Regions from separate parts of the Homo sapiens genome. Here region 1 is linked to region 2. The links are contacts of gene promoters, found by promoter capture Hi-C in human tissues and cell types (Jung and others, 2019). All regions are on one chromosome and are shown on one strand. The core of a region is centred on a gene start or on the middle of the fragment in contact, and the rest is flanking DNA. Distances in the headings are between cores, read along the strand shown. Region 1 holds the start of ARL2BP (ARF like GTPase 2 binding protein). Region 2 holds the start of CCDC102A (coiled-coil domain containing 102A).

The links. The method cuts DNA at HindIII sites, captures the fragments that hold promoters and counts their contacts. A contact is called where the count stands out against the background at its distance.
Region 1: the fragment with the promoter of ARL2BP here is called in contact with the fragment with the promoter of CCDC102A in region 2 in 1 of the 25 tissues and cell types used here (lymphoblastoid cells).

What each region holds. Positions count from the first base shown.
Region 1 is chr16:57,241,924-57,247,228 of GRCh38, forward strand. ARL2BP (ARF like GTPase 2 binding protein) reads left to right here and starts at 3,336. Exons shown (of 6, transcript NM_012106.4): 1 at 3,336-3,482; 2 at 4,157-4,218. The coding sequence starts at 3,445. LOC124903697 (a long non-coding RNA gene) reads right to left here. Exons shown (of 2, transcript XR_007065082.1): 2 at 3,892-5,305. RefSeq lists silencers at 3,055-3,434, 3,525-3,734. The HindIII fragment of the contact is 10,161 bases long and covers 1-4,590 here.
Region 2 is chr16:57,535,104-57,540,044 of GRCh38, forward strand. CCDC102A (coiled-coil domain containing 102A) reads right to left here and starts at 1,468. Exons shown (of 9, transcript NM_033212.4): 1 at 1,397-1,468. It also overlaps a transcript of ADGRG5 not described here. RefSeq lists a silencer at 761-1,710 and enhancers at 3,977-4,066, 4,317-4,366, 4,387-4,446. The HindIII fragment of the contact is 34,087 bases long and covers 1-4,941 here.

The DNA.
Region 1 (5,305 bases), core at 2,086-4,585, 290 kb before region 2:
TGCCCCTTTTTAAAATAACATAGAGCAGAAGAAAGTCATGGTGCCATTTGCAGAGTGCCAGGAAACTGATTCAGTCACAAAACTGACACAATTTCACTGGCAGAAAATGACTTTTGCACAAGTTTCAACCATCTTGAATGTGTATCCATGAAAACAAACCATCCACCTAAGATCAGCTCTTTCCAATATTGCCCATCATTTACCTTTTGCTATTTATTCACTCAGAAGAATTCCTAGTGCCAACCCCCAATCAAAGGATTTTAAAAATGAGTATTAATGGAAAAACATTTAGTGTATTCAAGTCAATTTTTAGTTTTGCTACAAGTGGAAAAAGGCCATTCTGTATTCAGGAGAAAACGTTCTGATTTCCAAGAATATGGTTTAACAACCCAGGGATTAGGGGCTATATAGCATGATGGTTGAAATAGGCCCTTTGGAGTGGGACTGGACCCAGGTCCCACTAATGCTTGGTTTCCCAGTCTGTAAAATGGAGATACTACCCACCTCATACCGGTTTTTTGTTTTTGTAAGGTCTCAAATATTTCAAAAGGAGACAATGTATTTATAAATGTTTAGCACACTATCTGATACATCCTTGAGTGGGTACTTTTTATCTTTATCCCCATTTGTTCCTAGAGTCAGTAAGGTTGGTGAAATGGATTAAAAGATGGCCACAAATTATTTGACATCCCTCCCGTCAAGAAATGAGGTTTATGTCTACTTTCCTTAAATTTGGGTGGCTCTGGGTCTGCTTGATCAGTGGAACACAGTGGAAGGGCTATTGTGCCAGTTTCCAGTACCAGGTCTTTAAGTGACTGCCAGCTTACATTTCAGTGTCTTGAAACACTTGCTCTTGGACCCAGCACCATGGTGTGAGAAAACCCAAGAATCCCCTGAATCCTATAGATGGAGAGGAACTGAAACCCCCCAAACCCCGGCCCCAGTTCTCTGGCCAATGTCCACAACTGAGAGCCAAGAGCCAACACTAATTTGCCAGCCATGTGAGTAAACTCCTTGGAGGAAGCTCCTCTAGTCCATTCCAGCTGCCCCCAGCCGACACCAACTGGAATAGAGACTAGCTGGCCCTGCCCAAATTACAGATTAGTGAGCAAAATGGTGGTTTTAAGCCACTAAATTTTCAGGTGGTTTGTAACAGCAATAGATAACCAGAACAGATTAAATCAAGGTGTGTTCCTCCTCCACTCCATCAATGACTTAGGAAGGGTAGGCAAATTCATTTTGTCCAGAAATGTGTGGTATATAGAGAAAGTAGGTCATGAAGAAACTCTCTGAGTTTGCTGTAAGCTGTGTGACCAGGGCTTGACTAAACAACTCAGTCCAGTAATTCAGCAAATCTTTTTAAATGCCTATCTTCCACTTGGTGCTAAACAGAGTAACTCATAATTGATGTCACCTGACCGGGTGCGGTGGCTCACGCCTGTAATCCCAACACTTTGGGAGGCCGAGGCGGGCAGACCACCAGAGGTCAGGAGTTCGAGACCACGCTGGCCAACATGGTGAAGCCCTGTCTCTACTAAAAATACAAAAATTAGCCGGGTGTGGTGGCACGCGCCTGTAATCCCAGCTACTTAGGAGGCTGAGGCAGGAGAATCCCTTAAACCCGGGAGGCAGAGATTGCAGTGAGCCGAGATTGCGCCACTGCACTCCAGCCTGGGCAACAGAGCAAGACTCCCTCTCAAAAAATAAATAGGCCGAGCGCAGTGGCTCACGCCTGTAATCCCAGCACTTTGGGAGGCCAAGGCGGGCGGATCACCTGAGGTCGGGAGTTCAAGACCAGCCTGACCAACATAGAGAAACCCCATCTCTACTAAAAACACAAAAAAATTAGGCATGGTGGCGCATGACTGTAATCCTAGCTACGCGGGAGGCTGAGGCAGGAGAATCGCTTGAAACCGGTAGGCGGAGGTTGTGTTGAGCCGAGATTGCACCATTGCACTCTAGCCCGGGCAGTAAGAGCGAAACTCCATCTCAATAAATAAATAAATTAGTAATAATTTATGTCACCTTGGTCACAGCTGTCACACCCGACTGTGTCTTTGTAACCATCTTTGTTTCAGATCCCACGGATATCTATTTTAAGTCCATTCAAAGATGTCTGCTAGGCCGGTTGTGGTGGCTCACACCTGTAATCCTAGCCCTTTTGGAGGCCAAGGTAGGTGGATCATCTGAGGTCAGGAGTTCGAGACCAGCCTGGCCAACATGGTGAAACCCTGTCTCTACTAAAAATTCAAAAATAGCCGGGCATAGTGGCACGTACTTGTAATCCTAGCTACTCGGGAGGCTGAGGCACGAGAATCGCTTGAACCTGGGAGGCGGAAGTTGTAGCCAGCCGAGATCGTGCCACTGCCCTCCAGCCTGGGCGACAGAGCAAGACTCCGTCTCAAAAAAATAAAAAATGTCTGCTAACCCATTCTGACTGGCCACCTGACCCTCAGTTCATACCTTAAACCCCTCTAGTTCCTCTAGTCATATACCACACTTTGGCCATAAGGTATCATGCAACTAAAGAGACACAATGCTTAGTTGTCCAATCAAGAGAAATCAGCTCAAACGAATCCTTTTTCAAAGTTTGGCAGTTTTGAAGAGGCCTTTTCCTGAAAGGTATCTGATTCCTGATTGCGTGGCTCAAAATAGTTCTTCAATTCTCATCTTGTATAATTAGTCAAGAAACCAATTACTGCCGAGTAATCTTTATGATGCGAAGATTATAACGTAAATTACAGGACATCGACTTCTTGCGATGGGGCTTTCCTTCCACGAGGGGTAGGAACTGTCTTGAAATCAGACGTCAGCATCACCTGGTTCAAGGGATAAGGGACTGGCTCTCCAGCGACTTGGCAACTTACAAGCGCTCTTTAAACACGCCTTAAACTACTTATTTAATCCTCCACACTCAGGGAGGCGCAATTTATTCTCGAGTTGCGAGTGAGGAAATTCTGGCTCGTGGCTTCGATTCCTTCATCCGTACAATGGGGGCGACTTGAGACGGAGTTCCCACACAACGGGTGCTCGCCGAAGCGCCGCATCCCTCCGCACTCCCTTCCGGGACTTCCTCTCCCTGTCTTGCCCCGCCCCGGCATCGGTAACGCTCGCCTGTGATTGGATGCCGGCCGGCCGTGAGGCGGTGGAAGGGGTTGCGGTGGCCATGGTGACAGGAGGCGGGGCGCCGCGCCCCTCCGGCAGTCACCGAGGCCCGGACCTGCGGCGTCGGCGGCGCGCGCAGAGGGCCAGGCGGGCGTAGAGGCCGGACCGACGCGTGGCGGCAGAGGGTATCCAAGGCCGGACCTGGCGCGCAGGCGCTGACCCGACCTGGCAGTGAGCTGGCCGCGGCCTTGGCTGAGAGGCCTTAACCCCGCCGGGCGGCCGCGCCCTGCATGCGAGTTGGGCCGCGGGCGGGGTTGGAGCCTACTCGGGGCGACTGCGATGGACGCCTTAGAAGGAGAGAGCTTTGCGCTGTCTTTGTGAGTAGCTCCTCCAGGGCGCAGGCGACTTGGGGCCGGAGGCAGCGGGCGTTCGCCCCGGGGCCTGACCCTATAAAACAGGTGTCCTTAGGGGCCGGGCCGGGCCGGGCCGGGCAGGGTGGGGGCCGCCAAGGCGCCGTCCCAGCTCCAGGCCTTCCTTTTGTAGAGTACTAAGGCTGCAGGTTTCAGGCCCCGCAGGACAGGAGTGCGAGGCGGGTGTCACCGTTGATCAGCGCCTCCATCACAATCCCCAGCCGCCAACCCTCAGCTGTCAGCAAAGCCTGGAGGGGTTGAGCGCCCGAGGCCCCTCCACCCCTCCCTGGCCCCCGCCTCCCGGACTCCTGACCAAATGACCCCCCCCGGCAGGTGTTTCGCCCGTGCCGGGTTCATGCTCACAAGCAGACAGGTATGGGGTGATAGCTAAGAGCCTGGAGAACAAGTTTTTATTAAAGTGGAGTCATGACATTGAACGTTCATGTCACAAACGTGCCGAGTGTGTTTTCTTCTGTTTGGACTTACTAGATCAGTCAGTCATTCTTAATCGTTGAAGATGGGTGATGGGAAGTTCGTTTTGCTACTCTTTTTTCTCTTGTGCATGTTTGAAAACGTCCATACTAAAAACATTTTTTTAATGCATTATTTGAAATAGCACCTAATCCAGGCATGTTTTTCAGCTCCTCCGCCTCTGATGCAGAATTTGATGCTGTGGTTGGATATTTAGAGGACATTATCATGGGTAAGCTTTTAAGATACTGTTTTTAAGGACTTGCTTGTTTCTTTAAGGACATTGAAATCAATTTGGAGAGTTAATTTTAAAAAGAGAAAACATCAAGCTGCCTGCAATTTTTAATGTAGCACAATGTAATACTTAAGTAAAGGCTTACTGCAGTTTGTCTTAGAAACAAACAGCCCAGTACTCCTGAAAACATCTAATAAGCATAGATTCAGAGGCTGGAAGGGACTGACTCAGGCTAATAGGGCACCAGCAGTGTGGCGTTCTTCGCAAAACTATAGGAAATAATGATCTACTCTATTTCTTATGTAGGGTAAGAGCAATTTCAATTTTAGATAGTTTTGAGTTTTAACATTTTCATGCCATAAAACACATAAAACCAGGCCAGGTGCGGTGGCTAACGCCTGTAATCCCAGCACTTTGGGAGGCCGAGGTGGGCGGATCACGAGGTCAGGAGATCAAGACCATCCTGGCTAACACGGTGAAACCCTGTCTCTACTAAAAATACAAAAAAAATTAGCCGGGCGTGGTAGCGGGCGCCTGTAGTCCCAGCTACTCAGGAGGCTGAGGCAGGAAAATGGCGTGAACCTGGGAGGTGGAGCTTGCAGTGATCCGAGATCGTGCCACTTCACTCCAGCCTGGGCGACAGAGCGAGACTCCGTCTGGAAAAAATAAAAATGAAAATAAACACATAAAACCATAACCATAAGCACACATGGCCATAAAGAAAACAAGGTATTAAGCTTCAGCTGGTTCTGTATTTTCCTAGGTTTTGAGTTCCTACTTGTGGATGTATTTGGGCATCCATGAAACCTGCTAAGTAACAGAGAAGCAGTAACAGTCCCCAGAGGTTTAAGACAAGTATGTAGGAGGGGAAAACTTACATTTGAGAAAATTCTGTTGACTTTAAGTTTTATGAGAATTGAGAAAAGAACACTGTTATTTGGTGTTATTGGCTGTATGGCTTAATCCATTTAGAATGAAAATTACTGACCAAGTTTTTATACCTTCAGGTATAAAGGTTCATGCCCTTAACTCCTGAATATAGATGTTTCATCATTAAGCTCGTTTCCCATGTGGACTTGGGGAT
Region 2 (4,941 bases), core at 218-2,717:
AGCAGAGCCCAGTGGGAAACCACAGAGGACAGCCTGATTGAATAAGTGCAGGGCCCAAGGCTGGTCAGCCCACAGACTGCGGGCACCTGTCCCTGTGACCTGCTGCCCAGGATCCAGCTGCAGGACCTCTGGGGGGAGCTGGCTGGCGGGAAAGGAAGGGATGGCGGCTAGGCCTCCAGGCTGGACCTAAGCCCAGGGGTAGGCACCCCTGGCCTATTCCCAGGTAGCCCCATCTTAGACTGAGGAGCCACAGAGACAGCCTGGATCATTGATTTGAACTCCTTTCTTTACATATGGACCAACTGAGGCCCAGAGGGACAGCTACGTGTCTGTGTCCACACCGCGGACCAGCAGCAAGGCCAGAGTAGGGAGCTGGTGATGGGATGCCTCCTCTTCTGGATCTTAGCCACCTGAGGGGCACAATGCCCCCGAGAGCACCTACACGATGGGGTCTGCAGGCACCAGGCCAAGTGGATACGCACAGCTGGAATGGTGGGGTGAACCTTCATGGGGACCCAGCCCCACCCCGACCCCAGCCCCACCCCTCTCGGCAACACCGTGAACTCTTCACTCTTGTACAGCAGACATCCCGCTAGTCCCAGCTCCATCACTGATATGCTGTGTGATATCTGCAAGTCCCTGCCCTCTCTGGGCCTCAGTTTCCTTACCTACAGGATGGGGAGAGGCACTAAAAAGATTCCTGAACGCTCTAACAGGTGGGCAGACCTCCCGAACCCAAACCAATCCAACCCCCACAAGAGCCCTGGGAGAGCGGGGGTGGGAAGGTGGACACCACCCCCACCTAAGGTACTGAAACTGAAGCCCCAGCCCTGCGTCGCCTTAGTCCTCACTTAGTCGACCCCTCCCAAGCCGCTGGCCCTGCGAACCGCCCCGCTCCACCTAGCGACGGGCGGAGGGTGGAGGGGGTTCCCGGCCCGCGCCGCGCGGTCCCGCCCACCCCACCGCATGGCCCCCATTGGCAGTCGCCGCGGCTCTGGGCAGGGCGCCGTGCTCTGATTGGCCAGCGCCGCCCGTCCATCCCGCATTCGCCATGGCGACCACGTTGGGTCCCCCGGGAGAGTCCCAAATTCCGTCCCCGCCCGCCGCCCCCTCCCGTCCGGCCCGGGCCGCGGCATTCCGGAGGCGCCTCCCCTCCCCCATCACCCCGCGGCCCCTCCCCACCGGAGACCTGGGGTTCCGGGGGCTGAGGGAGGCCGGGGAGGCGTCTAGAAAGTTCTGCTCTGAGTTCGGGGGTTGCCGCGGGCGCCCCGACTGTGTCTGCTCCTCCAGCACGCCCCACAACTTAACCCCTTCCTTCCCGCGGAAGGCGCGCGGCCTGGAGCAAGTTCCCGGGCCGCCTTGGCCTGCCGCCCCCCGGCCTGCCGCCCCCGCTCACCTCGGGCCGGGACTTGCGGGCTCCGTACGTCCCAGCCGCTGCGGCGGGGTAGAGCGGGCACCGTGCAGCTGCGACCGCCGCCGGAGGGGCCGAGGGAGGGCCGCGGAGTCTCCTCCTCCCTCCCGGGGGGAGGGGAAGCAGGGGGAGCGGCGGGGCCCCCGAAGCGGTCGCAGGCTGCGGCCCCGCTGTGACCCCGGCCCACCGAGCTGCTGGGGTGGGGGCTCCAGCCTAACTTCGGGGCGAGGGGTGCGGGCCGGGGCGGTGGGCTCTGCTGCAGAGCGGGCCGTACCCCAACGGAGGCCCCACCCCCGTGAGGGGCCGAGAGTTGCGGGGGGGCTCGGCTTTCTTGGTTCAGGTTTCCTCAGCGCCAACTACGTACTAGGCGCCCCCAGCAGAAACGGCCACCGCGGGTCCCAGCTCGGCACGTGGAGCGAGCTTACCAAGTCTTCACTGTTGTTACCTGCATTTTTCCCTGGGCCAGCTCTGCCACCGAGTGGAAGTGGGCCAACAAGTCTGTGCCCATCGGGCCTCAGTTTCTCTTTCTGTACAACAGAAGGGTTGACGAAAGCAACCTTGCGCTTGTTAAGAGGTGGGGGGCGCGGGGAGCACTCGGCCCGGCGGGCGGAGACTTTTCTCTGCATTGCGATGGTGGTTGGCAGGCCCTGGGGAATTACGGTACTTCGCCTTCGGGGACGCCCAGCTGTTTTGGGGCTTTCTCTCTATTGGGGGTAGGATGTTTGTGGTCTTGACTGGAAAGCCGGGACAGGCGTCTGGAGGACTCCCCACTACATCCTGTACCCTGGAAGGCCCCCGAGGTGAATCTATTTAAAAGAAGACCAACAATTCACCAAGATGGTGGGGAAAACCTGGCCTGATTGGGATTTTACCTAGAAAAAGAAGCTAAATATTACGAAGATAAATTAGTTTTACCCCGTGATTAACGGAGTTTAGATTATGATTGCAACCACGCACGCCTTAAAATGAACCAAGAATGAATCAGATGTTAACACTGGAAGTCTTGCTTTTTCTTGTAATAGTTGAGTATGTAGCATCCTTCCCTTCTGAACTGGTTTTTGCAGTAAGAGATTCATTTTTGCAAAAATATTTGAGAGCTTCCTCAAACTCAAGGATCACTCTGAATCCTTTGATAGTCCAGTGCCTTTTTTCGGGTCTGGGTCACTTCCCTTGCAGACGTTCCCTTTCTCTGTGGGCAGCGGCTGTTCCATTTCTCCTGCTTTGCTTCCACCAACTTCATGAAATCCCATACGTTGCAAGACTGGCAGTTTCACTTGTCGATTCATTTGCTTTGTATTTGTTATGCGTGGCTGAATGTTGAAAGCGTCTGTTCACCAGCCAGAGATAGATAGGAGATGTATGTGGGGTTTGAGTACTCAGAGGACAAGGGCATCCACATTTTACAGCTGAGGAAATGAAGGCTCAGAGAGGCTCTTGGCTCAGACTTGCACAAGGTCCTACAGCCAGTAACAGCCTTGGATCAAGAGCCCAGAGGTCTTGCCCAGAGTTTTTGGAGGTGGAAATGGGGCTGGGGAAGGTGGTGGAGACTGAGTTGATGGTGCACCTGAACTCCAGCTATAACCTCATCACTATCAGGCCTTCTCTCCTTAGGAAGAAGCAGTAAATATTGTCCTGAGGATGTCTTTTGCAGGGGCTAGGGTGGGGTGACGTGACCCACCCGATCGTAGAACCAAAGTAGGTGCTGGCCACAGGTTTTGGCAGCTCGCATGATGTTATCTTAGTTACCTAGGGGCTGGGTGTTATTACCACCCTCTCATAATGAGAAAAGTGAAGATCAGAAATGACTGGACTGGGCACGGCGGCTCACACTTGTAATCCCAGTGCTTTGGGAAGCCAAAGCGGGAGGATCGCCTGAGGCCGGGAGTTCAAGACCAGCGTGGGAACATAGGGACACTCTGTCTCTACAAAAAGATAAAAAGTTTAGACAGGTGTGATGGTACGCTCCTGTAGCCCCAGCTAACTTGGGAGGCAGAGGCCAGAGGATCGTCTCGAGTAACTGGCCCGGGGTCACCCTATGAGATGTCAGATCCCAGATCTGACTGTTTCAATTTTACCATAGTTCTCTTTCTAGAACAACACCCCCAGGCGCCTCTCTGAATGCAAGGCTAATCTGGCGTCAACCTCCCCAGTGGTCTCGGCAGGGTTTCTCTCTGGCAGCCTGTCCCACTCAGTTCAGGACAGTCAGGTTTTTGAGGCGTGTGTCAATATTTCCCACACTTCAGCAGTTCTGTTTTCCTGTATTACTGCCACCACTTTTTGCCACTAACACATGCCCTTATTTACCTAGCATTTTTCTTTAAATCATTTCACTTTGTAGGACCTACTTGTATCTTAAAGCCTATTTCATATAGCTAGGTAAATAGAAAATTTGTATAACTTGCCACAAATAGAAAAAGATCATAAAAATAAATAGTATGCAAATAAAACAACGTTAGTAAAGTCTAGCTAGAAACGTTCTCTTTGTTAAGAAGGGGCATCATTTCTACACCCATGTTGATTGTAGCATTATTCACAATAGCTGAAAGGTGGAAGTAACTGAAGTGTCCATCAACAGATGAATGAACAAAATGTAATATGTATTATACACATAGTGGAATGTGATTCAACCTTTAAAAGGAATGAGAGTCTGACACACTACAACACGGAGGAACCTTGAAGACGTCATGCTAAGTGAAATGAGCCAGTCACGCAAGGACAAAGACTGTATGATTCTACTAAGATGAGGCACTTAGAGTGGTCAAATTCAAGAGACAGAAAATAGAACGGTGATTGCTAAGGGCTTGGGGGAGTAGAGAACAGGAAGTTCTGTTTCATGGGTATGGAGTTTCAGTTTGAGAATATGAAAAATGTTTTGGACATGGGATGTGGTGATGTTTGCATGACAGTGTAAAGGTAGATAATGCCATTGCACTGTACCCCTTTTTTTTTTTTTTTTGAGACAGGGTCTCACTCTGTCACCCAGGCTGGAGTGCAATGGTTCGAACACAACTCTCTGCAGCCTCGACCTCCTGGGCTCAAGCGGTCCTCCCACCTCAGCCTCCTGAGTAGGTGGATCTACAGGGGCACGTTACCATGACCAACTAAATTTTTTTTTTTTTTATAGAGGCAGGGTCTGCTATGTTTCCCAGGCTGGTCTCGAACTCCTGGGCTCAAGTAGTCCTACCACTAGGGCTTTGTCCAAAGTGTTGGGATTATAGGTGCGAGCCAACCCACCTGGTCTGAATCTACACTTAAAAATGCTTAAAATGGTAGCTTTTGTTACATATATGTATGTGTGTGTGCGTGTATATATATATATATCTTACCACAATAAAACATTTAAAAGTCAGACGTCCTGTTTTGAAGTCTAATAAAAGATTGAAAAATGGGGAAAAATAAGGGACATAGTCTGTGTTAGAGAGGGGTTAAAACAATTTAGCCCTCGGCGGGGCACAGTGGCTCACACCTGTAATCCCAGCACTTTGGGAGGCAAAGGTGAGCGGATCACTTGACTTGTCAAGAGATCGAGA